Regions from separate parts of the Homo sapiens genome. Here all the other regions are linked to region 3. The links are contacts of gene promoters, found by promoter capture Hi-C in human tissues and cell types (Jung and others, 2019). All regions are on one chromosome and are shown on one strand. Each heading gives the region's core, a stretch centred on a gene start or on the middle of the fragment in contact. The rest is flanking DNA. Distances are from core to core; before and after follow the strand shown.

Evidence for each region. Contacts are between HindIII fragments. The study calls those that stand out against the background at their distance.
Region 1: a fragment that was not itself captured here is called in contact with the fragment with the promoter of RNF183 in region 3 in 4 of the 25 tissues and cell types used here (aorta, liver, ovary and 1 more).
Region 2: a fragment that was not itself captured here is called in contact with the fragment with the promoter of RNF183 in region 3 in 1 of the 25 tissues and cell types used here (liver).

Annotation. Positions count from the first base shown.
Region 1 is chr9:113,247,693-113,252,024 of GRCh38, forward strand. The region is part of intron 1 of SLC31A1 (solute carrier family 31 member 1); the gene reads left to right. All of the region lies in intron 1 of LOC107987119 (a long non-coding RNA gene), which reads right to left. Among named protein-coding and RNA genes, the nearest start is that of CDC26, 26 kb to the right of the region's middle. The HindIII fragment of the contact is 7,964 bases long and covers 1-4,332 here.
Region 2 is chr9:113,267,449-113,271,961 of GRCh38, forward strand. The region is part of intron 3 of CDC26 (cell division cycle 26); the gene reads right to left. Among named protein-coding and RNA genes, the nearest start is that of CDC26, 5.9 kb to the right of the region's middle. The HindIII fragment of the contact is 5,691 bases long and covers 280-4,513 here.
Region 3 is chr9:113,302,034-113,306,773 of GRCh38, forward strand. It overlaps RNF183 (ring finger protein 183), which reads right to left and starts at 1,343. Exons shown (of 5, transcript NM_001371237.1): 1 at 1,023-1,343; 2 at 162-280. RefSeq lists an enhancer at 3,614-3,783. The HindIII fragment of the contact is 15,296 bases long and covers 668-4,740 here.

The DNA.
Region 1 (4,332 bases), core at 1,162-3,661, 53 kb before region 3:
GGTTTTGAAAGCTGTTTGGAAAAATATCATACCATACTTATTAAATGGGGGAGAGGGGAAAGCAACAGAAGTGCTGAGCTCTTCAACAGTCAATATAGCATTTACTGTTTCCTATATTTAATAGCATTCAGAACAATAGAAACAAGTTGGCACATAGCCAACTTCAGGTACCTAACTGAAGATAAATGTTCCCTAGAAACTGAATAGTTTAAAGCCTTCCTGAGAAAGAAACTCCTTTTATTAACTATTTTATGTGAACTAAATTCCACATAAACTCCTGCTTAATTTTTTAAAATAGTCAATTCCTAGACCATTTCTCATCTTCCTTAATGATCCAAGAAGATGGCCAGGCATGGTGGCTCACGCCTGTAATCCCAGCATTTTGGGAGGCTGAGGCAGGCAGATCACCTGAGGTCAGGAGTTCCAGAGCAGCCTGGCCAACATGGCGAAACCCCGTTTCTGCTAAAAATACAACAAAAAAATTAGCCAGGTGTGGTGGTGTGCACCTGTAGTCCCGGCTACTTGGGAGGCTTAGGCAGGAGAATCACTTGAACTCAGGAGGCGGAGGTTGCAATGAGCTGAGATTGTGCCACTGCACTCCAGCCTGGGTGACAGAGACTCTGTCTCAAAAAACAAACAAACAAACAAACAAAAATCCAAGATTTCTGTGCTAGAAGGAAGAGCTCTTATGAACTATTCACATGAGTGTTCATAGCCACTTCATGGTCTCAGGAAATCAGGACAGGCAGAAAGATACTTGAAAGCAGTCCTTTTTTTTTTTTTTTTTTTTTTTTGAAACAGAGTTTTGCTCTTGTTGCCCAGGCTGGAGTGCAATGGTGCAGTCTCAGCTCACTGCAACATGGCCTCCCAGGTTCAAGTGATTCTCTTGCCTCAGCCTCCCAAGTAGCTAGGATTACAGGTGCCCGCCACCACACCCGGCTAATTTTTGTAATTTTGTAATTTTTTAGTAGAGATGGGGTTTCACTATGTTGGCCAGGCTGGTCTCAAACTCCTGACCTCAAGTGATCCTCCCACCTTGGCCTCCCAAAGTGCTGGGATTATAGGCATGAGCCACTGTGCGCAGGCTTGAAAGTAGTCTTGACGCAAATACTTTGTAGGAGAGAAGCTAACAGACAAGTCAAGGGTTGTCTTAATAAAGTCAAGTGAGGAGAGAAACCCAGCTAATATTTTGATTAATGCCTTCTCCCACAAAGTTCACTCATTGGATTTTCCCTACTCAAGTTCTTTTATCCCCTAATATTCCACATAATGATAATAGCTGCCATTTATCAGGTACTTTGGTAGATGCTTTATGTATGTTATCTCATATAATCCTCCCAAGAATCCTCCAAGTTGTACAGGCTGGAAACCAGCTCCAGAAAGGCTAAGTAACTTTCCCAGGACATACAATCAGATCACCTTCTTTTTCTTTTAAAATTCACCTTCACCTTCCAAATTCTTTTTACAGATGTGTTCCAGTTAGGTAGTTAAGTCCTGTCACTCCGTTATTCTAATGCAAAGGTGATTCTCCAGTATTGCAAAGATGATTCTCCAGTATTGAACGATTTTGAATTCTGTTAAAGAAAACTAGTATACCTCAATTGGCAAAAAAAAAAAAAAAAAAGTAAATGAAAGGGCAGTACAGTAATTCTAATCTTTCTTTGTTTTTTTTTTATTTTTTTATTTTTTTTGAGATGGAGTTTTGCTCTCATTGCCCAGGCTGGAGTGCAATGGCAGGACCTTCCCTCACTGCAACCCCCACCTCCCGGGTTCAAGCAATTATCCTGCCTCAGCCTCCCAGGTAGTTGGGATTACAGGCACGCACCACCATGCCCAGCTAATTTTATATTTTTAGTAGAGATGATGTTTCACTATGTTGGTTAGGCTGGTCTCGAACTCTTGACCTCAGGTGATCCACCCACCTTGGCCTCCCAAAGTGCTGAGATTACAGGCGTGAGCCACCACACCCGGCCACAGTAATTCTAATCTTTCTACCCTAGTTATAAGCTCAACTTGGTAAATAAAATATTTTAGGTAGATTTTATCATAGATTAAAGGTTAGGAAAATTTTCGCAACCTACTCATCTGACAAAGGGCTAATATCCAGAATCTACAATGAACTCAAACAAATTTACAAGAAAAAAAACAGACAACCCCATCAAAAAGTGGGCAAAGGACATGAACAGACACTTCTCAAAAGAAGACATTTATGCAGCCAAAAAACACATGAAAAAATGCTCACCATCACTGGCCATCAGAGAAATGCAAATCAAAACCACAGTGAGATACCATTTCACACCAGTTAGAATGGCAATCATTAAAAAGTCAGGAAATAACAGGTGCTGGAGAGGATGTGGAGAAATAGGAACACTTTTACACTGTTGGTGGGACTGTAAACTAGTTCAACCATTGTGGAAGTCAGTGTGGCGATTCCTCAGGGATCTAGAACTAGAAATACCATTTGACCCAGCCATCCCATTACTGGGTATATACCCAAAGGACTATAAATCATGCTGCTATAAAGACACATGCACACATATGTTTATTGCGGCATTATTCACAATAGCAAAGACTTGGAACCAACCCAAATGTCCAAAAATGATAGACTGGATTAAGAAAATGTGGCACATATACACCATGGAATACTATGCAGCCATAAAAAATGATGAGTTCATGTCCTTTGTAGGGACATGGATGGAATTGGAAATCATCATTCTCAGTAAACTATCGCAAGAACAAAAAACCAAACACCGCATATTCTCACTTATAGGTGGGAATTGAACAATGAGAACACATGGACACAGGAAGGGGAACATCACACTCTGGGGACTGTTGTGGGGTTGGGGGAGGGGGGAGGGATAGCACTGGGAGATATACCTAATGCTAGATGACAAGTTAGTGGGTGCAGTGCACCAGCATGGCACATGTATACATATGTAACTAACCTGCACATTGTGCACATGTACCCTAAAACTTAAAGTATAAAAAAAAAAAACTTCAAAAAAAAAAAAGGAATCCTAAGGGTTTTTTTATTGTTTGTATTTCAGTTCTGTCCCTGAGTTATATATTCAGATTTTTTTGGTTAGTATTTGTAATGGTGGTGAGAACTGGTAGGCATTTGGGTCATTAGGGATCCACCCTCATGAGTAAATTAATGTCCACTCTCAGGAGTGAGTGAGTTATTGCTCTCATAGGAATGGATTCGTTCCTGCAAGATTGGGTTGCTATAAAGTGAGCCCGTGTCTCTTTGCACATGCCCACTTGCCTTTCTGCTTCTCTGCCAGAAGCCCCAAAGATGCTGGCACCATGCTCTTGGACTGTCCAGTCACCAGAATCATGAGGCAAATAAACCTCTTTTCTTTATAAATTACCCAGCCTGAGGTATTCTGTTATAGCCACACAAAACAGATTTAGACAGTATTCTTCTTTACAAATAATTTGTAAATTTGGCCTGGCATGGTGGTTCATGCCTGTTATGCCAGCACTTTGGGAGGCCAAGGTGGGCAGATCATTTGAGGTCAGGAGTTCAACACCAGCCTTGCCAACATGGTGAAACCTCATCTCCACTAAAAATAAAAAATTAGCTGGGCATGGTGGCACATGCCTGTAATCCCAGCTACTAGGGAGGCTGAGGCTGGAGAATCGCTTGAACCTGAGAGGTGGATGTTGCAGTGAGCCAAGATGGCACCACTGCACTCTAGCCTGGGTGACAGAGTGAGACTCTATCTAAAAAAATAAAAAATAAAAAATAAAAATAGAGCAAAGATTGTATGACCCTGGATTTTAACTTATTGTTACATGAGTACCCATTTTTATTTTGGAAGAAGCTGAGCTTAAGTCAGATTAAAGCTACCAAAGGAAACAGGCTAAAAAGAACCAATGCTAGTTTACCTCCTGTAAGTTGAATTTCTATTCTAGAGAGAATGGGTTAGGTGTGTTCGATTGCTTTAGAAGATAACTTATCCAAATACATACAGCACATCACTGAAAATTTAAGTGGGAAGAGAAAAAAATATAATCACTTTTATTTATTATGCTTTAATAATTAATTTGTAAGTTTTAACTTTTTTGATGTAATTTAGCTTTGGCATATTCCCGTGGGATCTTTTCCTAAAATAAAGCTTTTAGTGAGCGTAAGGACTTATCAGGATTGGTTTGTGTTTGAGCCTACAGTGTATGTTTATATATTAATCTCCACCGGCTTTGTATCTTCCTATTCATACACCATTCGGTAAGCCTTGCATAGGATTCCATTACAATATATCCATTGTCTACTGACAATGAGAGCAAGTAGATTCTGCTCTTGTTCTATCTCCTAGTATATTTGGATGT
Region 2 (4,513 bases), core at 1,875-4,374, 33 kb before region 3:
TAAAAGTTTTAGGATTAAGGCAACATTCTTTCAATTAGCAAATGTTTATTTAGAACACCTACCATGTACTAGGCATGGGCTAAATGATAGAGTTAGGGTGTAAAGAACAATAAACTGAAATCCTAGGTTTGGAGTACTTAGGGGCACAATGAGGATATGGTGTTAAAAGTTGTAACCCCTGATCACTTGAGGTCAGGAGTTCGAGACTAGCCTGGCAAACATGGTGAAACCCTATCTCTACTAAAAATACAAAAATTTGGCGGGGCACGGTGGCTCACATCTGTAATCCCAGCCCTTTGGGAGGCTGAGGCGAGCGGATCACGAGGTCAGGAGATCGAGACCACCCTAGCCAACATGGTGAAACTCCATCTCTACTAAAAATACAAAAATTAGCTGGGCATGGTGGCGCATGCCTGTAATCCCAGCTACTTGGGAGGCTGAGGCAGGAGAATCGCTTGAACCAGGAAGTCGGAGGTTGCAGAGAGCTGAGATGGTGCCACTGCACTCCAGCCTGGCGACAGAGCGAGACTCTGTCTTAAAAAAAACAAAAGATGTAACCCCTACCCTCCAGGATGTCACAGTCTAATAGGGAAACAGGCAAACAGACGATTATAGGGTGATCAGGGCTATGACCTATGACAGAGAGAAGTCTACACTGCCAAAGAGACAAGAGGTAAGGAGTTGGGGTGTGGTGGTACAACAGGAAGCTACAATTGGAAAGCTGTAAGAGCAGACAAGTGAGAGCAAAGGGCATTTCAACAAATTTATTATTCTAGAGAATAGAAAAATAAATTGGGTAAAGAAATAACCACCAAAAATCTATAGCCTGACTGATCCCATGAGATTAAAAGTAACTCAAGAAGGTTTTATGCTATCTTATCAAAAGGTCTGGGTTTTGTGGCTTCATTTTGTTTTCAGATAAAAGGTTTGGCTCCTAAGTCACATGTGACTGCAGAATCCAGAAAGTATGTCTTAGTTTGATCATTTTCAAAAACAGACACTTATCCCATAACAGCCACTACCTGACTGTAAGGATAACAGATGATAACTTTCTCTAAGAGAGTGAAATGATGTTTTATCCAAAGTTACTTAATAGAAGAATGGCTCAGCTACTCAAATCACTGGAATTACCACCATTCTTCACCACTTGCTGCTGAACTGTGGGCATTTAAATGCCAAGCATCAGGCTGACCGCAGTGGCTCATGCCTGTAAATCCCAGTGCTTTGGGAGGCCAAGGCGGAGGATTGCTTGAGCCCAGGAGTGTGACACTAGCCTGGGCAACATAGTGACACTCCATCTGTCTCCACAATTTTTTTTTTTTCTTTAGACTGAGTCTCTGTCTGTTGCCAGGCTGGAGTGTAGTGGCGCCATCTTGGCTCACTGCAACCTCCGCCTCCTGGGTTCAAGCGATTCTCCTGCCTCAGCCTCTCAAGTAGTTGGGACTACAGGCGCATGCCAGCACACCTGGCTAATTTTTGCACTTTTAGTAGAGACAGGGTTTCAACATGTTAGCTAGGATGGTCTCAATCTCTTGACCTCGTGATCCGCCTGCCTCGGCCTCTCAAGGTGCTGGGGTTTACAGGCATGAGCCACCGCACCCGGCCCACAAAAAAATTTAAAAATTAGCCAGGCATGGTGGCGCATGCCTGTATTCCCAGTTATTCAGGGGGCCTGATGTGGTAGGATCACCTGAGCCTGGCAGGTCAAGGCTGCAGTGAGCTGTGATCATGCCACTGTACTCCAGCCAGGGCGACAGAGCAAGACCCTGTCTCAACAATAAAAATAAAAAAAAAAAATAAATGCCAACACTCACAAAGTATTACAGGGAATAAAATAAGGTATTGCCTTTTATGTGGCAAATGACCTTCCTGATTACTAGTAAGTGATGTTAGAAAGTTCTACCTAAATACCTTTGTGAAAACAAGTTCGAAAAGGCAAACAACTCTATCATTCTGAGAATATCCAAATGGAATGAAATCACTTAAAAGGCTTCCCACTTTGAGCAACTGCTGTTTCAGAAGCTAGAGTCACAGTAGTATAATCAAACTCATGTTGGTAATAAATGAAACAGGCCAGTTTTCTACTGGTTTCACTTTAGGGCATGACTGTCCCTGCTTCCTAAGTTACTCTAAAACAAGGTAAAACCCACTAGATAACTGTCTTTAGTGGAAAGACTAACTCAATAGTGAGCTGACTGTAGAGTCAAAGTTCAGCATGCTAGCATTTTATGAGATTCGTTACAACTGAAGTTTAAGCCATACTTTAAAGCTCATGCTTAATAATATATGAGTTTTTAGAAAGCAAAAATTACGATACTTAGAGAACACTAAAGTCTCTTGGGATGAAGCAGGGGGAAAGAAATCTAAGTTATTAGTCTTAATATGAAGCATATACAATACATAATAAAGCTGTTGGTGAATATATGCAAAACGTACTGTCCTCTGCCATATAGTACAAGATACCTACTAGGACAGCAAATGAAAATAGACTTGCATTGAGCCCTCCTTTGGACCTGGTATTGCAGGGAACAGATGCAGAGAGAAATATACTAATCCCTGACTTCAAGGAGCTTATGGCCCAGTGAGGGAAAACAAAAGCAAACAGACAATTACAACAGAGAGTGACCGTGCCTATGAGAGAGGTTAGCACAGGAGGATAAGGTTGAGCCTAACCCAGCTGGGGGCTGGAAGGAGTAAGAGTTAGCCTGGCAAAGAAAAAGAAAGGGCTTTTCTGGCAAAGGGAACACTGTGTATAGGCACTGAGATTAAAGATAACCCAGCAGTGAAAGTGGAGAGATAAGCAAGGACCAGCTCACAAGGAGCTCATATGCCATGCTAGGGAATTTGGAATTTATTCTGTAGACCACTGAAGAATTTAAGTCTTATTAATGGACATCTAATACCATGTAGCAAGGCCACAGTTAAAAATACATATGGGGCCCCTACTATGAACTAGATGGTAAGAACTCAATGGTGAAGCAAACAGACATGATTTCTGCAATCAACGTCCCTAATGTAAATGATTTTACAATAAAAAAAATTGTAAATTATAATAAATGCTATGAAAAAAATATGGTGCTTTGTGAGAGCCTACAGAGATGGAGGCAGCATGGACGGGAATGACACATGAAACTTGGATACGGTCAAAAGTGGCCTCTTAAATTGAAGAGTTGACATTTGAATGAAGACTGGAAGAAAGGGAGCACTCCAGGCAGGGGGAAATAATATGTGGAAAGTCCATGGAAGTGATAAATAGATTGGCATGTTCAAGGAAATGAAAGAGAGCCAATGTGGCTAGGGTATAGAGAGCAAGGCAAAGAATGGCACAAAATGAATCTGGAGAGGCACTAGAACATACAAAATCTTGTAGGCCATGGTGAAGAATTCAGATTTTGTTATAAGTGCAGAAAACTACTGAGGAGTTTTAAACGGGAATGACAGGATTTGAAAATTTCTGAAGATCATTCTTGATACTGGATGCAGAATGCACTGAAAGAGACAAAAATGGAAGTAGAAGACCAGTTAGGATGCCACTACAATTATACAGGGAAAGACGGTTACTTAGCGCAGGACTGTAACAGTGGAGATGAAAAGGTATGGGTGGATTCCAGACATATTCTGAAGGTAGAATCAAAGGGTCTACAGACAGATCGAATATAAAGCGTAAGAGAAAGGGAGGACTCAGGAATGACTGCTAGGTTTCTGGCCTGAGGAACTGAATCAATACTGAGATGGGAAACACTGGGGAAGAATGGAAGGGACGACTGGTTCAAGGGAGAAATCAAGAGTTTTTCTCTCTTCTTTTTTTAACATGTTAAGTGTAGTAGGCTGAAAAATGGCCCCCAAAGCTAGCAGGTCCTAATCCTGGAACCTATAAATGCCTTATATGGGAAAAGGGCCTTTGCAGGTGTGACTAAATTAAGGATCTTGAGAAGGGGGGATTATCCTGGGTTAGTCAGGTGGGCCCTAAACACAATCACACATATCATAAGAAGGAGGCAGAGGAAGTTTTCACAGACAGAAAAGAAGACAATATGACTCTGGAGGCAGAGACTGGAGTGATACAGTCATGAGTCAAGGAATGCCAGCAGCCACCAGAAGCTAGAAGAGCCAAGGAATGGATTCTTCCCTAGATCCTCCATAGGGAATGTGGCCCTCCTGACACCTAAATTTCAGCCCAGCAATACTAATTTTTGGCCTATAAAACTGTGAAATAATAAATTTCTGTTGTCTTAAGCGATGAAGTTTGTGGTACTTTGTTACAGCAGCCACAGGAGACATACATGAAGTTTGAGATGCCTGTAAAGCATCCAAACAGAGATTTCAAATAAGCTGTTGGCTTAAGAGTCTGCAGTTCAGAAGTTAAAGTTATTGTGTATGTATGTGTGTGTATATACATATTTATGTATGACAGAGAGTCTCACTGTTGCCCAGTGTGGAGTACAGTGGAGCCATCATAGCACACTGTAACCTCAAACTCCTGGGCTCAAGCAATCCTCCCGCCTCCGCCTCC
Region 3 (4,740 bases), core at 93-2,592:
GATAAACAACCAGATATTAGCAGTGGTTATCTCTGGGGGCAAGATTATAAGTTTTTTTTTTTTTTTTAATTCTCTTACCTGAAAATTCTAACTTTACTCCATCCAGTAAGCTTGTATTACTACACGTCAAGATCTCCTGTTTCCCCCCAAATCAGACCTACCTTCTCTGAAGTTCCATGGCCAGAACTGTAAAAGGCTGTCCAAGAGGAGGAAGCATCATTATTGCCTGGATCTTTATCTGTGCTGCTCTCCCAGGGATCCACTGCTGTTTCAGGATCAGCTGGGGAGAGATTCTGGCCATGTATCACCTCCACCCCAAGCCAGGACATCTCAGCTACAGTAAATCCTAAACACCGCCCCAAAGTCATCTCCTTGGTCTATGAACAAGTCATCGCCAAATATCAATTGTCCCCAGCATCACTCCATTGTTTTCAACCAAGAACTGGCATTTCCATAGCACTTCACAGTTTACAAAGGGCCCTGGCCCTTGCTAAGATCTAAGTGTGGTGATCCATCTAGATAGGTTACTAGCCTTTTGGGATTTTTTGTTGTTGTTTGCAGAAAGCCATTTGATACTCTAAAACCACCCTGTGAGAGAGGCTGAATGGGGAGTAGAAAGGTGCCGGCTTTGGAACCAGATTTGGAACAATTTGTCTTGGACAAATGGCTTAACCTCTCTGAACTTCATTTTCCTCTGTAAAAAAGGCTAATCATCCCACTCCTACAAGGTTGCTCTGGGGAAGGAATAGTCTATACGGTGCCCAGTAGAATACGGAAGGCGCTCAATACAGAGTTAGCATGATTATTTTTAGACCCATTTTCTAGATGGGGAAGCCAAGGCTCAGAAGGGTGAGGCAACTTGCCGAAGTCTTCCCAGCTAAAGAGTGGCTGAGTTTGAAAGATGAACCCAGTAGCCTGCCCTCCCAGGCCAGAGTTCACCTGTCGCGCGCTGCACGGCTGCTGCCTCTCTGGACTCTGGAGCCCTGTGACCCGTCCCTCCGCGACCCTCTCTGTCTCCTTACCTGCTCCCTCGGAGCCGCCTCCTCCGCCTCCGTTCGTGCAGCCCTGCACGCATGTGCTTTGTTTTCTGACTTCCCAGGCCCGATTTCCAGGTAGCGTGGGTGGGTCTTATTTGCATAGGTCTTAGCAGCGTTTGGCCAGCTCTCGCTGTTTCAGGTTTTCTTCTTCCTTCTGGTGACTTTGGACCTCCTGTACACCCTGGAAGCTTTGGTTGCTTTGTCTTTCTCCTGTGAGTCACTCTGGCTTTTTCTCTGAGGGGATCAAGTGCGCTCATCCTTGCAGGCCTCTGTTCTGGGTCCGATTGATCTCCTGCCATCCCCTCGGATTCCACTGTCCTCTGTGCGCTGACCTGCCTCGACTCCTGGCTTCTGCCGAGATGGATCCTTCCCTATGCTGAGTCCCTGTAACCAAAATACAGATAGCTCTTGCAAAATACTGACAAAAGCGGCCACTAATACAGCAGAAAAATAGTCGGGAGACGGTTGAGCGTCTGCCTGAAGAGCCAGGGTTCTCAAGCAAGGCACACTTCTAGGTCAGAGTTCAGCCCTCACTGAGAATCCAAACTCCGTTTAACTACCGATGGAGACTTGAGCAAATTAATTAACTTCTGCCAGCCTCAGTTTCCTCACCTGAAAATGGCCATAATAACCTACCTACTTGATCTGTAGATTAAATGAGGTAATACGTGTCGAGATCGCGTAATAACACAGGGCCTGGCAGACAGTAACTCGCTAAATGTTAACCAGAACTATTATTGTTATAACCGGTCTGTTCACGTGGCCCATCTTTTGTTCCCGCTCAAATTCTTTTTGTACCTATGGTCCTCTTTTCTTTCTCTCTCTCTTTCTTTCTTTTTTTTTTTCTTTCTTTTTTTTTTTTTTTTTTAAGACGTAGTTTTGCTCTGTCGCCCAGGCTAGAGTGCAGTGGGGCGATACTGGCTCACTGTAACCCCCACCTCCCTGGTTCCAGCAATTCTCCTGCCACGGCCTCCCGAGTAACTGGGACTACAGGTGCGCGCTACCATGCCCGGCTAATTTTTACATTCTTAGTAGAGACAGGATTTCGCCTTGTTGGCCAGGCTGGTCTCAAACTCCTGACCTCAGGTGATCCACCTGCCTCGACCTCCCAAAGTGCTGAGATTACAGGCATGAGCCACCGCGCCTGGCCCCTTATTTCTTTACTGACATTTTCAGCCATACTTGAGAAATAAACAAGTAAATAAATGTATCTGCTTGGTGATGTAATCAAATGCCCTAGTCCCCGCATTTTGTGTTTTTTTACATTAATTTTTATGTATTGATTTATTTTGAGACAGAGTCTCACTCTATCATCCAGGCTGGGGTGCGGTGGCACGATCACAGCTCACTGCAGCCTCAACCTCCTGGGGTCAAGCAGTCTTCCCACCTCCGCCTCCTGAGTACCTAGGACTACAGGTGCATGCCACCGTGGCTGGCTAATTTTTGTATTTCTTGTAGAGATGGGGTTTCTCCAGGTTGCCTAGGCTGGTCTCAAACTCCTGGGCTCCAGCAATCCACTTGCCAAAAGTGCTAAGATTACACTTGAGCCACCGTGCCCACATTTGATTTTTAAATAGGTAATATATTTACATGGTTGAGCATGTGAATGGTTTGATTTCACAGTGAAAACTGTCTCTTCGCAGCCACCTAGTTTCCCTGGAAATCAAAGTATTATACTATCAGTTTGTTGTGTATCTTTCCAAAGATGTTTTATACATACACAAACAGCATGTCCATGGCAAAACATCTATGTATTCCTTTACCTCCTTTTTACACAAATGTGCATATTATGTACACTGTTCTGCATTTTTCTTTTTTCATTTGATGATGTATTTGAGATATCATTCTGTATTAGTACATAAAGACCTTCTTCGGTTTTTGGCCCAGCGCTGTGACTCACACCTGTAATCCCAGCACTTTGGGAGGCCAAGGCGGGTGGATCACTTGAGGTCAGGAGTTCAAGACCAGCCTGGCCAACATGGTGAAACCCCGTCTCTACTAAAAATACAAAAATTAGCCGGCGTCATGGTGCACACCTGTAGTCCCAGCTACTCAGGAGGCTGAGGCAGGAGAATCGCTTGAACCTGGGAGGCAGAGGTTGCAGTGAGCTGAGATTGTACCACTGCACTCCAGCCTGGGCGACAGAGCAAAAAAAAAAAAAGAAGACCTTCTTCGGTTTTTTAATGGTTGTATCAGATTTCATTGAATGGCTGTACCATAAATCACTTCACCAATCCCCTATTGATCTAACCCCCTCATTATAAATATATAAATATTGAATGAAAGAATAATGCAAAAATGCTGATTTTAAGTTAGCCTAGAATTGTGTGAAAATAAAACTGTGGACTTTGGGAAGTTTTAGATCTCTAAAGAAAATGTCTAAGTAATTCTCCTCTTTCTGAGCTGGAGACGAGGTATATGATCACCGATGGCCTCAAAGTTCCTCTCAGCTCTGGAATTCCCTGCTTTTCGGTGTCACTACTGGTTAACTGAGGTTACTGGGGATTCGAGACACTGATTTAGTCCAAAGAACCTGGTTTGTATTTGAGAGTTTGGAAGTCACGCTTTCTGGCTTGGCAACATAAGAAAACATAAAGAAGTTCATCTACTTTGACCTAATCATGTAATTCCCCAGAAGCATCAAAAAGATATATTTTGGTTGAGTGAGGATATTCATTGCAGTTTTATTTTAATCACAAATGATTGAAAACACTCCAAAACCCCATCAATTAGGTGAAAAACTACATAATCATTTAAAATGATATAGAAAGATTTTCATTGACTTTTAAAAATGGTCACAGTATACTGTAAATGGAGGGGGAAAGCAGCTTAAAAATGGTGCATGTTGGCCGGATACGGTGGCTTACGCCTGTAATCCCAGCACTTTGGGAGGCCGAGGCAGGCGGATCACAAGGTCAGGAGTTTGAGACCAGCCTGGCCAATATGTTGAAACCCCGTCTCTACTAAAAAATACAAAAAAAAAAAAAACTTAGCTGGGCGTGGTGGCAGGTGCCTGTAATCCCAGCTACTTGGGAGGCTAAGGAGGCAGGAGAATCGCTTGAACCTGGGAGGCGGAGGTTGCAGTGAGCCGAGATTGCACCACTGCATTCCAGCCCAGGCAACAGAGAGAGAATCCATCTCAAAAAAAACACAAACAAACAAACCAAAACCAAAACAAAACAAAACAAAAAAACGGTGCATGTTGGCTGGGCACATGCCTATAATCCCAGCACTTTGGGAGGCCGAGGTTGGAGGATTGCTTGAGCCCAGGAGTTCAAGACTAGCGACCCCATTGCTACAAAAAATAAAAAAATAAAAAATTAGCTGGGCGTGGTGGCACATGCCTGTTGTCTCAGATACTCAGAAGGCTGAAGTGGGAGGATCACTTGAGCCCAGAAAGTCAAGGCTGCAGTGAGCCCAGATTGCACCACTGCACTCTAGCCTGGGCAACAGAGCAAAGACCCTGTGAAAGATAGAAAAGAAAAAAAGAAAGAAAAGAAGAAAAGAGAGGGAGAAGGAAGGAAGGAAAGAAGAAGGAAGGAAGGGAGGGAGGGAGGAAGAAAGGAAGGGAGGGAAGGAGGAAGGAAGGAAGGGAGGGAGGGAGGGAGGGGAAGGAAAAGAAAAGAAAAGGAAAGAAAGAGAGAATGTAGCATAAGCCAGATTTTGTAAAGCATAATTTATGTATAAAGACTGCAAGACCATG